Regions from separate parts of the Homo sapiens genome. Here region 2 is linked to region 1. Evidence: promoter capture Hi-C in 16 types of primary human blood cells and fetal thymus (Javierre and others, 2016). All regions are on one chromosome and are shown on one strand. Each heading gives the region's core, a stretch centred on a gene start or on the middle of the fragment in contact. The rest is flanking DNA. Distances are from core to core; before and after follow the strand shown. Region 1 holds the start of ZFYVE26 (zinc finger FYVE-type containing 26). Region 2 has its middle 25 kb from the start of ZFP36L1.

Region 1 (7,029 bases), core at 1,196-3,695:
CGGTGGCTCATGCCTGTAATCCCAGCACTTTTGAAACTGCCCGATGGGTTCACCTTACCAGCTGCCTAGACAGAACCGATTTATCAGGACAGGGGAATTGCAATGCAGAAAGAGTAATTCACGCAGAGCCAGCTGTGCGGAAGACTGAAGTTTTATTGTTACTTAAATCAGTTGTCCCGAGCATTTGCGGATCGGAGTTTTTACCAATAATTTGGCTGGTAGGGGCTTAGGAAGTGGGGAGTGCTGATTGGTCAGGTTGGAGATGGAATCATAAGGGGTCGAAGTGAGGTTTTCTTAATGTCTTCTGTTCCTGGGTGTGATGGCAAAACTGGTTGCGCCAAATTACTGGTCTGAGTGGTGTCAGCTGATCCATGGAGTGCAGGGTCTACAAAATATCTCAAGCACTGATCTTAGGGCTTGCAATAGTGATGTCACCCCCGGGAGCAATTTGGGGAGGTTCAGACTCTTGGAGCCAGAGGCTGCATGACCTCTAAACTGTAATTTCTAAACTTGTAGCTAATTTGTTAGTCCTGCAAAGGCAGACTGGTCCCCAGGCAAGAAGTGGGTCTTTTCGGAAAGGGCTGTTATCAATTTTGTTTCAGAGTCAAACCATGAACTGAATTCCTCCCCAAAGTTAGTTCAGCCTACGCCCAGGAATGAACAAGGACAGCTTAACGGTTAGAAGCAAGATAGAGTCGGTTAGGTCTGATTTCTTTCACTGTCATAATTTCCTCAGTTATAATTTTGCAAAGGCGGTTTCACTTCGGAATGCTGAGGCAGGCAGATCACTTGAGCTCAGGATTTCGAAACCAGCCTGGCCAACATGGCGAAACCCCGCCTCTACTAAACATACAAAAATTAGCCAGACATGGTGGCAGGCACCTGTGATCCCAGCTACTTGGGAGGCTGAGGTGAGAGGAGCCAGACATTGCCTCAAAAAAAAAAAAAACCTTAATGGGCCAGAAAGCCATGTTACTTTTCTCAGGAATCGAGGACAATCCACCAATCACAGAAGAGTTTTTGGAAGAAAACGTTTTGTTTGTTTTAACTTGCTCTTTTCACCACCCTTTGGTGATTAAATAGTTTGGGAAATGCTGAATGAAATTACTAAACCTGAAACACACATAGTGAGGAAAGCTGAGAGTCTGTGATTAAAGCACACCAGGGAAACCAAACAAAAGGCTTGGTGTAAGGCAGCTGTGGTGAGCAAACCTAGTAAGCCGTTACTTCAAGAGTTGGTTTCAGGCTGGGAACGGTGGCTCACGCCCGTAATCCCAGAACTTTGGGAGGCCGAGGTGGGCGGATTGCCTGAGGTCAGGAGTTCGAGACCAGCCTGGCCAACATGGTGAACCCCTGTCTCTATTAAAAATACAAAAATTAGCCGGGTGTGGTGGCGCGCGCCTGTAAATCCCAGCTACTCAGTGAGGCTGAGGCAGAAGAATCGCTTATCCCAGCTACACAGTGAGGCTGAGGCAGGAGAATCGCTTAAACCCGGGAGACGGAGGTTGCAGCGAGCCGAGATCGCGCCATTGCACTCCAGCCTGGGAGACAGAGCGAGACTCTGTCTCAAAACAAAAGACTTGGTTTCAGATTATTGTGTTTGCGAAAAAGCCTTTGCTCATTCTTTGCTCTCTGATCTCTTATGCATACTTCTGTCTTATAATTTAGCCCACCGTCTCCTAATTTTTGGCCTGCATCTCCCTTGAGAAGAAGGACCTCCATTTACTCAACTTAGAGAATAGGGCCTAAGCCCGGTGTAGTGGCGCGCGCCTCTAGTCCCAGCTACTACAGGAAGGCTGAGGCTTAAGGATTACTTGATCCAGGAAGTTCGAGGCTGCCATGAGCCGAGATCACACCACCGCACTCCAGCGACAGAGAGACTCTGTCTCTAAAAAAATAAAATAAAGCCTAGCACACCGTTCAATTAACAGTTGTAGGGTAAATGTGCAAATAAATGAATGGAGTGAAGCAGAAGAATATGGAAATTCAGACCGCAGAGTTCCGGAACAAAAGAGCCCAGTAGATAGAATAATAATGGAGGAGAACCCAGTTCTCCTAGCTCCGGGTATCCCCCGCGCCTGGCAAAACACCATCACTGGTTGGCGTTCAATAAATGTTGACTTCACATGTTAAGGAGATAAGAGAGTGGAAGAAAAAAAAAAATCCAGGGTCACAGTTCTTCCTGCCACCTGCTCGGCCGAATGCAGAACTGAAAGTATTGAGCGCCGGAGCTGTCACAATTGAGGGAGATGGTCCGCAGCCAGGTAGCTGATTTCCTCTTTCCGAGCTTTCTAGCTTTCCCTACTCCCGGAGAGGTGGCGTCACGTGACTCAAACAAATATGGCACTTAATTTTCATCTTCCCTGCCTTGAGCCAATAGGAGTGGGGCTTTCAGTCTTTGTCACCACCCCCACCACCGCTGTTCGGAGTGGGTTCTGTCACCTGACTCGGCTCAAACATGGCTGCGCTGAGAGCTCTATTGCTTTGGGCGCCGGGAGCAGGTGAGTGTAAGACACCCCTGAGAGGGAGGGGCCCCTCTCCACGACCCCCGCAGAGAGCGTCCCTGCGGCCCACCCCCACACTGCTTTCCACTTATGACACAGATTCGTCTCCTGGTCGTCAATCCTCTGCCTTAACAGAGGGCTCAAACTAGGGAGGTTCCTGCTGAATTTCTCATTCTTGAGGAGGCGACCACCTGGGGATTTGGAGTCAAGACTGGGCATAACGTTCAGTAGGGAATACGGACGTAGAGTTATGGGTCTGCGCCCGGAGCAAATATGACTATTAATATTATTAAATATAGGAATCCGCGTGAAGAGATGGGATCCACCCCTTGAAGAAAGTGTTTTCAAAAAGTAACGTGGGAAATTAAACTGAAAACGATACTTAGGCAAGCAAGTCCCGCCTTTCCCAGGCGGACCAGTAGTTGCTGCTTTGTCTTAATACAGTGCCTTCTGTTTCTTCTCACTGGCGTTGTGTTGTTTCTAGGAGGTACTCCGCGAATGAGAACATTGAGAATGTGTTCGGCATAACTCATTTCTTTGTATCTCCCTGCACTCTGTGCTGGGAAAATGAATCATCCATTTGGAAAAGAGGAAGCTGCTTCGCAGAAGCAGCTTTTTGGATTTTTCTGCGAATGCCTGCGGAGGGGAGAATGGGAGCTGGCACAGGCATGTGTACCTCAGCTACAGGAGGGACAAGGGGATATCCCAAAGAGGGTAGAAGACATACTTCAGGCATTGGTGGTGTGTCCAAATCTGCTGAGGTAAGGGATCTCTTTTCCTACCAGACGGTCCCAGGGTGAGAGACATGTGGTTCAATATTTGGGCATTGGTCAATGTGCCCCCACTCAACTACCCTCTGAAGAATAAGCAGAGGCACAGTGTATTTCACGTGCTCTGAAATTTTACCTCTATAGTATACATCCATTACTTAGTCAATATTGGCTTTTGATTATCATCTGCAACTGAATGTAAGCCTGGCTGCCAAAGTGTGCCTGAAACTGCCATTTCTTGTTTATCCTCGTTAATATAGATGGTGGAACTGCATTGAAAACTATTTTCTTTGCCTCCAAAAAAGCAAACCCTGCTCTCTTCTTGCTTATGAGATTGAAAATATTGTTGTCGCTTTACTTAAAACTTTTTATTTCGAAATAATTGCAGTCTCACAAGAAGCTGCAAAAATAATGGAGTCCAGCGTATCCTTTTCCCAGTCTGCCCCAATTGCGACGTCTCATACAGCTGTAGTACAATATCAAAACCATGAAATTGACATTGGCACATTACTTTAAATGACACTACAGAGTTTATTTGGTTTTCAGCATTTTCTTAATCTGCCTTCATTTTTTCATTTGTAGTTTTATGCAGTTTTATCCATATATAGATTCATGTAATCCCACTGTAATAAGGATCAGAACTGTTCCATTACCACAAAAGAATTCCCTCACTCCTTGGTGCTACCTCTTTGTATTTATACAACAACCCCTCCTTGTTCCCTGGCAACCACAGTTCTCCATCCTTGATTTTCAATGAAGTTCCTCCTGGTGATGCTAGTAACCACTGGTGATGTAGGAGTCAAATGTACCGTTTTAAGTCTTTCCTTGGGTTTTCCTTCCTTTGACTGTTATGCTATACTGTTTACATATTGTATTAGCACATATACGATGGAGAAACTTAAGTGATCCCTTCCTTTTCTTTTTCTCCTTTAATTTGAGATCTAGCCAGTTACCGTCTAAATTCCTAACTTCAAAGAAAGGCTTATGAATTCCTAAAGTCCTGTTTTTAGCATATAGTTAAAAATAAATTTGTATGAAGTTCCTTTTTTAAGACTGTCTGATTCACTTTCTGTATTAAAAATATGCTTCAGATAGTATTAGCTATTATGGTTTTCTCGAATATTATTTTATTTTAAACTAAGATAAGGAGGTGGAGGTGAGATTAAGGCTTTTTATGAAAGCTGCTAGCTCTGTTCTGGTTCTGATTTGTTTGTTTGTTTGTTTGTTTGTTTGTTTGTTTTGGAGACAGAGTCTTGCTCTGTCACCCAGGCTGGAGTGCAGTGGCATGATCTAGGCTCACTGCAACCTCCGCCTCCCAGGTTCAAGCGATTCTCCTGCCTCAGCCTCCCGAGTAGCTGGGACTACAGGCGCCTGCCACCGCACTTGGCTAATTTTTGTATTTTTAGTAGAGATGGGGTTTCATTATGTTGGCCAGGTTGGTCTCGAACTCGTGACCACAGGTGATCCACCCACCTCAGCCTCCCAAAGTGCTGAGATTACCGGTGTGAGCCACCTTGCCTGGCCTGGTTCCAATGTTTTACTGAACTGTCATATACATTTAAAAATATCTCATTAGGGCAGTGTCTTGCCTGTTCAGGTTTAAAACAGAATAAGCAATGAAATCTGTCTTGGATGACAAAAGATGAAAGATCAGTAGAAACTCTTTTTTACAAGTCTTTCTTTTTACCTTTTTCAGATGTGGGCAGGACATCAACCCTCAAAGAGTAGCCTGGGTCTGGCTTCTTGTACTGGAGAAATGGTTGGCCCGGGAAAAGGTAAGTAGGTTTATATTAAATTTTCCTCCGAGGCCAGGACTGAGAAGAACTTGAAAGTAGTTGTGGGATTTCCCTTCTGTCTGTTACTTCCTTTATCATTAAATTCATCATACTCATTCTCAAAGAATGGCTTAAATTTTTATTGCTGTCTCCTTACCTAAATTCATTCATTAATGCACTAATATACATTGGCATATATTACTGTTTGTTAAATACCACCATGAGTCTTGTGCCTAAAGAGAACTTTTGGAAACTCAGTGAAGGTAACAAAATAGCAAATAAAATATGAATCTGTAACATTTGGATCTATTCAACATTTAAGTAATAGAGAATGGGCTGAGCTGAAACTTGGTTTTTCTTCCAAAAATCATATTTTAACTAGCCTAATTCCATGACATCTCATAGATTCAAATTCCATTAATTCATAGTTTAATAATTCACATGAATTGAACAGAAAATTACCAGATATAAAAACAAGTAAGCAAATTAATATTGAAAAAAAAAACCTGGTAAGGAATTACCTTTTTTAAAGATAAACTTCCATTAAAAGTCCTTTTAGAAGTATGTTAATTATCAGAAATTTATATCTTATAAAAGAATTACTCTGAGACATTTTCATATTGAACTTCAGACTTTGAGATTTAAGTGAAGAACCTCTAACTTAGAAATGACTGGCCCAAGGACACACCGTAAAGTTATTTGACAGAGCTGGTGCTGAAACCAAGATCTTCTGACCTCAATCCTCTGCTTTTTCCACCTTAACACTACTTTTTTAGCCCAGATGGACTTTAAGAAACCACAAATTCTACTTTTAAAATGTCTGTAATTTCGCCAGTTTTTTAAATTTTTGCTCCTCTCGGTCACCAGAATTAATTTTGTCTTTGGTTCCACTTTTGCATGATATTTATCGTTCCTCACAGAGCTGTCAAAAAGTAACAGAAATTGCTAATCTGAATGTATCTCTTATCCAGGATTTAGCCAGTTGTTTAGGAAAGAAAAATGACAGAAAGACTAGTAGGAGCGAGAAGAAAGAAAAACAAGATTGAAACATAATGAAACCCAGCATCATTAAGAGTTGGCTATGGTTTCAGATTTAAAAGAGAAAACTTGAACTAAAATAGTAACCTATAGTTACTATAGTATCTTCAAAGAGAAAAAGAACTATTGTTACTGATTAAGGGATCTCTCTAGTACAAACATGGAATTTGTCAAATCAAATTAACTTTCCCCTCAGTAGAGACTATTTGCTTACTTTATATCTGAATGGTTGCTTATTTTCTAGACAGTTGCTCAACTATGTCAGGAGATGGATTCCACTTCCCGTTCTTGTTTTTCCCAGGTTCACAAATAGATTATTTGGTCTTTAAAGCTTCAATGACTTGCTTATTTAAACAGTTGTGGGACTATTTTAGTTCCTCATAGAATTTTAAAACTATATAAGCACCATGGCGTCCAGTGAATTCTTGGGGTAGTTTTCCAAGTCCAGTCATTATCCTGAAGGTGCCTTCATCATCTAGGAATTTACTGGCTGCCTGTCCTTTTCCAGGTTCCCACCTTTTGCCAAAAGCTTCCCTTTTAATTATTAGATGAAATAGTGATTCTATTTTCCCTTTCCTCCATTCATTTTTGCCTTCTGCCTTTTAATCTTGCAGAGATGTATCTCTCCATGTGTAAGCAATTATACAAAGATTTAGCTGCAGAAATGTTCACGTCTATGCTACTTCTATTAGAAGAAAACTGAAACAACTCCCATGTCCATAGTATAGGACAGGTTAATAAATGGAAATATATCTATATGTAAAATACTATACCACTATTCAAAAGTATTTGGCAAATGAGTTTTCACTAACATAGAGTGTTCATGGTCTGCTGTATGGGAAAAAAGGCAGTTTAGAAAAAAGTACATTTGGTATACATGCATAGAGATGTGCATAGCAAATGGTCTGAATGAATGGCCTTAGACCACAGTTTTCATAATTG
Region 2 (7,029 bases), core at 3,050-5,549, 1.0 Mb before region 1:
ACACACACTGTCTCATATATTCCAGCTGCAGCTGCCCGTGGGTTAGGGCCCTGCCTCTGGTCTCCTTGCCCCTGGCAAGGTGGTCATTATTAGTTTCCTTCTCAGTTTGCTCTATTTTAAGCTTCTAGAGGACAGGAACATGTTTGTTTTGTTTTTAAAATGTTATATCCTTATTGCTCAGTAGAGTAACTGGCACTGAATGAGTGAGATGGAAGAATAATTGGACACTAGGCAGTCAGTGTCAGAACAGGGTGTGTGGACAGTGCACACTGAGTCTCAACTGGCCATCAAGTGGGCCAAGGTGGGCATCCCCAGGCAGGCATTCTAGGGTCCTGTGTATTGCCATATCTGTGCCCTCCACCTAAGGCTGGACGTTGGTAGGGGCCCTTATGTCATGGCCTTCTTGATGTGACAGCCCTGCTTTCCTGAGGCCAGGGATCCCCGGTGTGGGCTGTGTCAGGCGCTGCCAGCGGGGAACTCCCCAGGCTCAGTGCTGGTGCTTGTTCTCCGGAGCACCCCTCTGTCCTGCCCCTGGCCCCAGCACCCAGTTTCTGTTCTGGGGTGGCTCATCCTCATCAGAAAGGGAGCTCCTTGGAGGCCTCGTGGTGCCTGGCTGGTATACAGTGGGTGCTCAGTACATGCCTGCCATCTGAGTGGTCCACTTGCTGGACGGGGCTGGCCATGTTGCCTAGGGAAGCTGGCTGGGAACAGCGTTCCCAACCCGGCCTGCCACCAGGCTGGCCCCCAGGGTTGAGCACCTCCCAGCTGTCACAACCCAGTTGTGAGAAACGGTTCAACCCCCGGGAGTGCTATGGTCTGTGGTTGGCCAGGGGCTGGAATTCCCCCAAGGAGGCGGCCCCTGCGGCCACGCTATGGTCTTGCCTGGATCAGGGTGACTGGGAGGCCAGAGCACCCTCGCCTGTGAACCTGCGCTGAGAAGTGAACCTGCGCTGAGAAGTGAACCTCAGAAGGGGTCAGGTCACCACTCAGGGACCAGCATGCCCCCAGGGGCAGCCTCCTCCCAGACGGCAGTGCCAGGATGGGGCCATCTGGGGAGCAGGCTTGCACGGACCATGTCTCTCCGGTGTGGACTCAAGCTGGGAGTCTCAGCGCCTCGGGACTGTTTCCTCATCTGTAAGATGGGAGTGCTTACAGACAATGGAACATTATTTAGCCATAGACCAAGGTGTAATAACAATACATGTTACAACCTGGATAAACCTCGAAAACATGATGCTAAGTGACAGAAGCCAGACACAAAAGCTCTGGATAGGTGAAGTATCCAGAATAGGCAACCCCATAGCGACAGGAAGTAGAGGGTGGTTTCCAGGGCCTGGGGGAGGAGGGAAAGGAGAGCAACTGTTTAGTGGGTATGGGTTTCCTTTTGGGGTGATAAAAATGTTTTGGAACTAGACAGAGGCGGAGGTTCCACAACCCTGTAAATATACTAAATTCCACTGAAGTGTTCACTTTAAAATGCTTCATTTTATGTTATGTGAACCTTACCTTGATAAAAAACACAGGGGTGCTACTGACTTCACCAGCTGGTTTGGAGGCTTCAAAGAGAAGATGGCCGTGTAGCCTGAGCTCAGCCAGTGACACTGGTGAATGTCAAAGAATGGAAGCCATCGTGACCCTGGGGGCTGTGTCAGTTCCCTTGCCTTGCTGGACTCCAGACTGCGGGAGTCAGGGGCAGGAGCCAAGGGGGAGGTGAGGGCAGGTGGCTTCGCTGGGCACACCCCTTAGTCAGGGGCAGAGGGAGCTGCTGCGGCTGCTTCAGCAGCTGTGGGTGAACATTCCTATGCTGCAGGCCCAGGCTCCCGCCTCTGATTTGCTGCGCACTTTGGGTTGGCCCTTCAACCCTGGTTCGTTTCTTAATCTGCCCATATCTGCCTGGGTACCTGCTCTTCTGCCGCTGTATTGGACACCTGACCCCATCCTCATACCCGATTCCCACAGCGCAGGTCACTGCCAGGCAGTGTATTACCGATCTCTTGGTTCTGGGGTCTGTGGTCTATCTTCCCTACAGAATCAAGGGAAAATGGATCTGTTTTGTTCATGACTGTATTTCTAACACCCAGTGCCTGGCACATAGCAGGTACTCAATAAATATCTGTTAAATGAACAAATGTACAAATCCTCATTCTTTACGTAGTGGGTGCCAGGTCCTGTCTGTACTAAGTGCTGTCAGTAAATAGCTGTGAGGTCAATGTTATCATTATCTCCGTTTTACAGAGGAGGAAGCTGAGGCTCTGGGACATGGAATGGCCATAGCAGAGCTGGGATTCTGACCTGGCAGCCCAGCAGCAAAGCCCTCGCTCTGACCCACCCAGTTCTAAGCTGTCTTCTGACCTGGAGCTCCCACTCTGGGAGGCAGCTTGGGCCCTGAAGCATTCACTCTGCCTCCTCAGCCACCGGGCCCCGCCCACTCCCAGGGAGGGGCTCCCTCTGAAGCCGCACACCCACCACCCCGAGCCCTTTCTCAGGCTCACTGCCACCCCAGCCGGCTCCCTTCCCTGGGAACCTCCGTCATAAAGAAGGCGAGGCCCTGATCTGGCCTGTCTCTCCGCCCTGGGGCCTTCCTCACCTCAGGGAACCTTAGTTATACATATGGGAGTTACGCCTTGAGCTTGTATTAAGCACCTTTCATCTGGAGAGCTCCTGGCTGCTGGGAGGCTAATTAGCTGCTCTCTGGAAAGAGTGAGTAAGAGCTGACGTCCTAGCCAGGGAACTGCCTAGCTAGGCATGGGGCTGGCCCTCCTGGGAGAGGTGTGTGAGCCATCATCTTGGGTCACCCACTTCTCCATATTTCTCCTTCTGTAGGACCTCCTCACAGAGTCCCTTCTCTCTGGCTAATGATGAAGCCCACCGTTTATTGAGTGCTTATTATGTGCCAAGAGCTTGCTAAGCCCCTTCGCCTGTTAAATATGTGTGCAGAGCAGTAGGGCCGTAGGACTACATAAATATATGTGTGCAGAGCAGTAGGGCCGTAGGACTACATAAATATATGTGTGCAGAGCAGTAGGGCCGTAGGACTACATAAATATATGTGTGCAGAGCAGTAGGGCCGTAGGACTACATAAATATATGTGTGCAGAGCAGTAGGGCCGTAGGACTACATAAATATATGTGTGCAGAGCAGTAGGGGTGTCATGCGTTAACAACTGTGATGGAGCCCTACTCCTTGCTGGCATGGGACCAGTACTTCTGCACATGACCTCATGGAGTGGATGGGAAGCCTCTAGTGTGCTGCCTGGCACGGATCAAGCACTTGCTAAGTGGTAGCTATTATCAGTAATCTTCAGAACAGCCCAGTGAGGTAGGTACCATGCTATTCCCATTTCTCAGATGAGGAAACAGGCTCAGAGAAGTTAAACCACTTACTGGCTATCACAGAGTCAGGAATAGAGTTGGATTGATTTGATTGATTCTAAAGCTGCACATAGTTTTTCAGCTGCTCCCCGCTCCCTTCCCCTAACCTGGAGTCTGTTAACGACAAAGGCCTTGCTTTGCATAATGCTAGGGTCATGGGGTCATTGGGCAGGGCTGTTCTCGTCCATCTCTCCAACAGTGCACTGGTGGGCTAGGCATGGATCAGAAACCCTTGGAGATCATCTAACACAACTCATCCGCACCCCACATTTTTCAGATGTGAAAACGGGACAGAAGGGACTGAGCAAGGTAACAGGATTAATGGGATGATACCTCCTTGTCAGCACAAGGGATAAAGTGGCAGTGGTTGGTGGTCATCCTGGCCCCTGCCATCAAGCTGGCATTGATACAAAGTAAGAATCATTAGAACACTAGAATTCCTGGCTGCCATTTGTCAGCCTGGCCCACCTGCAATGAGTGACCCCAGGGATGTTTGGGTGGGGTGGGGGTGCACACAGCAGGCTGGAGCTGAGACTGGGGCGGGGAGGGTGTACTCCACCTACCTGCCCTCCAGGGTGCTTGGCGCCTCCTAGGGCAGGCTGGCCTCTTTGTGCCATGCCCCACAGAGCATTGCAGTGATCCTAGTGCAGAGCACATAGTAGGTGCTTAAAAATGCTCATTGGAGAAACAGCTGGATCCTGGACTGCAGGAGGGAGGAGATGGCACACTGAGGGCATTGATGGGTAGATGGTAACATCATGTCTGTTCATCATTACTCAGCAGACCTGGTTCCATCAGATGTGACTGCCCTTCAGGCCTTACAGAAGGTACCTACATAAATCTGCTCAGGCAAAGAGAAGTTTGTGGGCTGTGGGCACCTGGCTGGGGTTCCTCAAGGTGGAGCATTCTTCTTGGCACTGACGGGGGTAGCTAAGATCTGAGCATGCAGGCAGGCCCTCTTCTCCCCTGGATGCTGCCCTTCTGAGGAGGCAGCTCTGTGGGTACCAGAGGCATGGGCCTAGGAGGCTGTGACCCCCTGCCTGGCCCCCTACCAGTCTCTGCTTCTACAGACAGGGTCTGCATCTTACCTGCTCCTCCTGCCAGTTCCAGTCCCCTCCCCATTCCCCTCAGGACCTCATCCCTCCTCCTGGCCTCAGCTTAAGGGTTTCCTCAGAGAGGTCTTCCTCAAGAACCTTCCCATCCCAAATCTAAATGAGTGCCCCATTTATATATGTTCTCTGAGCACCTGATTCTTTTCCTTCATAGGAATTTGAAAGTCTTTTCAAATGGAATCTTATATTTCTTTCTAGGTGATTTGTTGAAACAAGTCTGTCTCCTCCGTTAGACTAAGCTCCGCGAGGGGTGAGAAAGTTGTTCCGTCCACTCGTCCTCCGGGGCTAGCAGGACATATTCTGTATTAAATGAGTAGATGACAGAAACCCCGTGAGAGAAAGAGTGAGCCGAGCCAGTGGTTCTCTAAGTGTGGCTCCAGGACCAGCGGACCAGCAGCTCAGCATCGCCTGAGGATTTGTTAGAAATGCAAATTCTCTGACTTGGTTGGGGGACCCAGCAATCCGGGTTTGAAAGAACTGTCCAAGGGGGGATTCCTGTGCACACTGAAGTTTGAGAACCACCGAAGGCGGCAAATCCCCTGCTGTTGGGTGAGTGTGCACTGTGGCAGCTTTGGTGACCTGTAAGAGGAACCATGGATGAGCAAACCCCACCTTCAAATGTAGCAAAGGGCAGAGAGAGGGTGGACACGTCACCCAGACCCCCAAAAGGGGCCCAGACGTGTTGTTCGGCGAGCTGGCCACTGGAGGGCAGTGTGGCCACGTCCATCGTGCTGCCTCCGAGGGCTTCCGGGGGAGAGCGGCCGCGGGAGGACGGGAACGAAGCCGTAGCGAGAACCTCGCCCCACGCCGCAGCCTCCTGCAGCAGCGTCGGCTCGCCGGCCCCTTGCGTTCCGAGCCGCCCAGGGAGCTCAGCCGCCGCAGCCCCGGCCCCTGTGTCTCCCCTCGCGGGCCGGGCCTGGTGTGCACGTCTGGATGGCCTCGGGCCTGGAAGGTTTGCGAGGCCCCGGGAGCCGCAGACCGCGCCGGGGAGGAGATCCCGGCAGGCCGGCCGGGGCAGAGCGCCAAGGAGGGCGGCGGAACCTTGGCTGTTTCCCGGGAGGCCAAGGGCAGCCTTCCCGCGTGATCCGCGCGCTGCCGAGCGCGTCGGCCATCTTGGCGGCCTCGCCCGGGCCCCGCGCCCGGCCCGGCTTGGTTCTCGCTCGCGGCTGAGCAGACGCCGGGGTGGCGACGGGAGAGCCCGACCGCGAAGCTCGGCCGCAGGAGTGCGTGGGCGTCGCAGAAGCCCAGGAGAGCCCTGGACCTTGGTAGCTTCCCGGGGGTGCTGGGAAACGCCACCCCAGTAGCCGCCAGGAAGGCAGGCCTGAGCCTCCGAGCCTCAAGTGAATTGGATGGTGCCAGTCGCCCTTCTTCTTTTTGCCCCATATTCAAAGAGCGGGAAGTCAGAGGGCGTTAAAGTAGGTCACAGCGGTCAGCAGGTTTTTGTGGGGCAGGCAAGTGGCAGGGTCCAAGGCCAGGCGTAGTATCTGGTTGCCTAAGATGCTTGGGCAACTCCTTCACCGGGCACACCAATCTCCGAGCCAGAGGTCAGGGACTGGCCCCGCGGAGCTGGCTGCAGGCGGCCGATGCATTCCAGTCCCTGACCACCATGGGGACTTGAGGTGCCATTCTGAGGAGCCCCAGGCCCCACCACGCCTGTTGCCTCTGTCTAGAGTAGTTCACACATGGATGCTGTCTCTCTGGTACTTGGGTGTTTCTCAGGTTCCAGAACATCCGTTCATCTTACCAGTCCTTCAAGGTTCAGCTTAAAGATCAGCTCCACCAGGAAGCCTTCCTGGATTTCCCCTCTTAGTTTCCAACAGAATCCGTCTCTTCCGTTCTCTGCCCACCTTGAGTAGCAGTAGCTTCAGCTGTAGACTCTCCTGTTTTTCCCTTACAGTCTTTGTTGCTGCATCCTCTTTCACTGAATTGTTGATGTGAGACCCTAGACTCTCTTGTTTTTTCGTTACAGTCTTTGTTGCTGCATCCTCTCTCACTGAATTGTTGAATTGTGAGACCCTGTGAGGGTCGGCACCCTGTGATACTGGCCAGGAAAGGGTTGTTGCAAGGGGATCATGGGATTGTTGAATGGGTTTTGATCTGGATTTTGATGTTGGAAATCAAGTTCCCAAATGTTTTCAACCTTGGGTAAAGGAACATGTAATGGTGTTTTTTAAGGCTGTCATGGAATCCTTTTGTGTGTTTAATTGCTTTGTTATTTTAGTAGAAATGTCAGGGTGTCAGAGGAACAAAAGCCATGGGTCTGAGCCCAAGCAAGAAGACAAACCACTGAGCCCGTGCTGGGTGCTTCCTCTGCGTGGCCTCAGGGTCAGGGCCTGTCAGATGGAATGGCAGGCTGCGGGTCCAGCCCCAAGGTCCAACCAAGGAAGCTCCTGGGGCCTTGGCCGAGCTTGAGGCTGTGATTTCAGACTCCTCGCTGGTCTAGGTCGGTATTTCAGAGGAGGCAAAAGAGAAAGTGCCTTCACAGCCTTGGAGAAGACTGGGAGCTAAAGGAGACATCCTTGCTTTTTCCTTTTAAAATAATAAG

What was found. The method cuts DNA at HindIII sites, captures the fragments that hold promoters and counts their contacts. A CHiCAGO score of 5 or more calls a contact.
Region 2: a fragment that was not itself captured here is called in contact with the fragment with the promoter of ZFYVE26 in region 1 in 6 of 17 cell types (neutrophils, monocytes, total CD4 T cells and 3 more); the score reaches 13.7 in neutrophils.

The regions. Positions count from the first base shown.
Region 1 is chr14:67,812,006-67,819,034 of GRCh38, reverse strand. ZFYVE26 (zinc finger FYVE-type containing 26) reads left to right here and starts at 2,445. Exons shown (of 42, transcript NM_015346.4): 1 at 2,445-2,501; 2 at 2,989-3,265; 3 at 4,971-5,049. The coding sequence starts at 3,072. RefSeq lists enhancers at 1,914-2,013, 2,064-2,233. The HindIII fragment of the contact is 23,571 bases long and covers 1-6,420 here.
Region 2 is chr14:68,815,022-68,822,050 of GRCh38, reverse strand. No RefSeq gene overlaps it. Among named protein-coding and RNA genes, the nearest start is that of ZFP36L1, 25 kb to the right of the region's middle. RefSeq lists enhancers at 822-1,021, 4,944-4,993, 5,094-5,143, 5,018-5,757, 5,774-6,003 and 2 more and a silencer at 5,244-5,633. The HindIII fragment of the contact is 8,351 bases long and covers 124-7,029 here.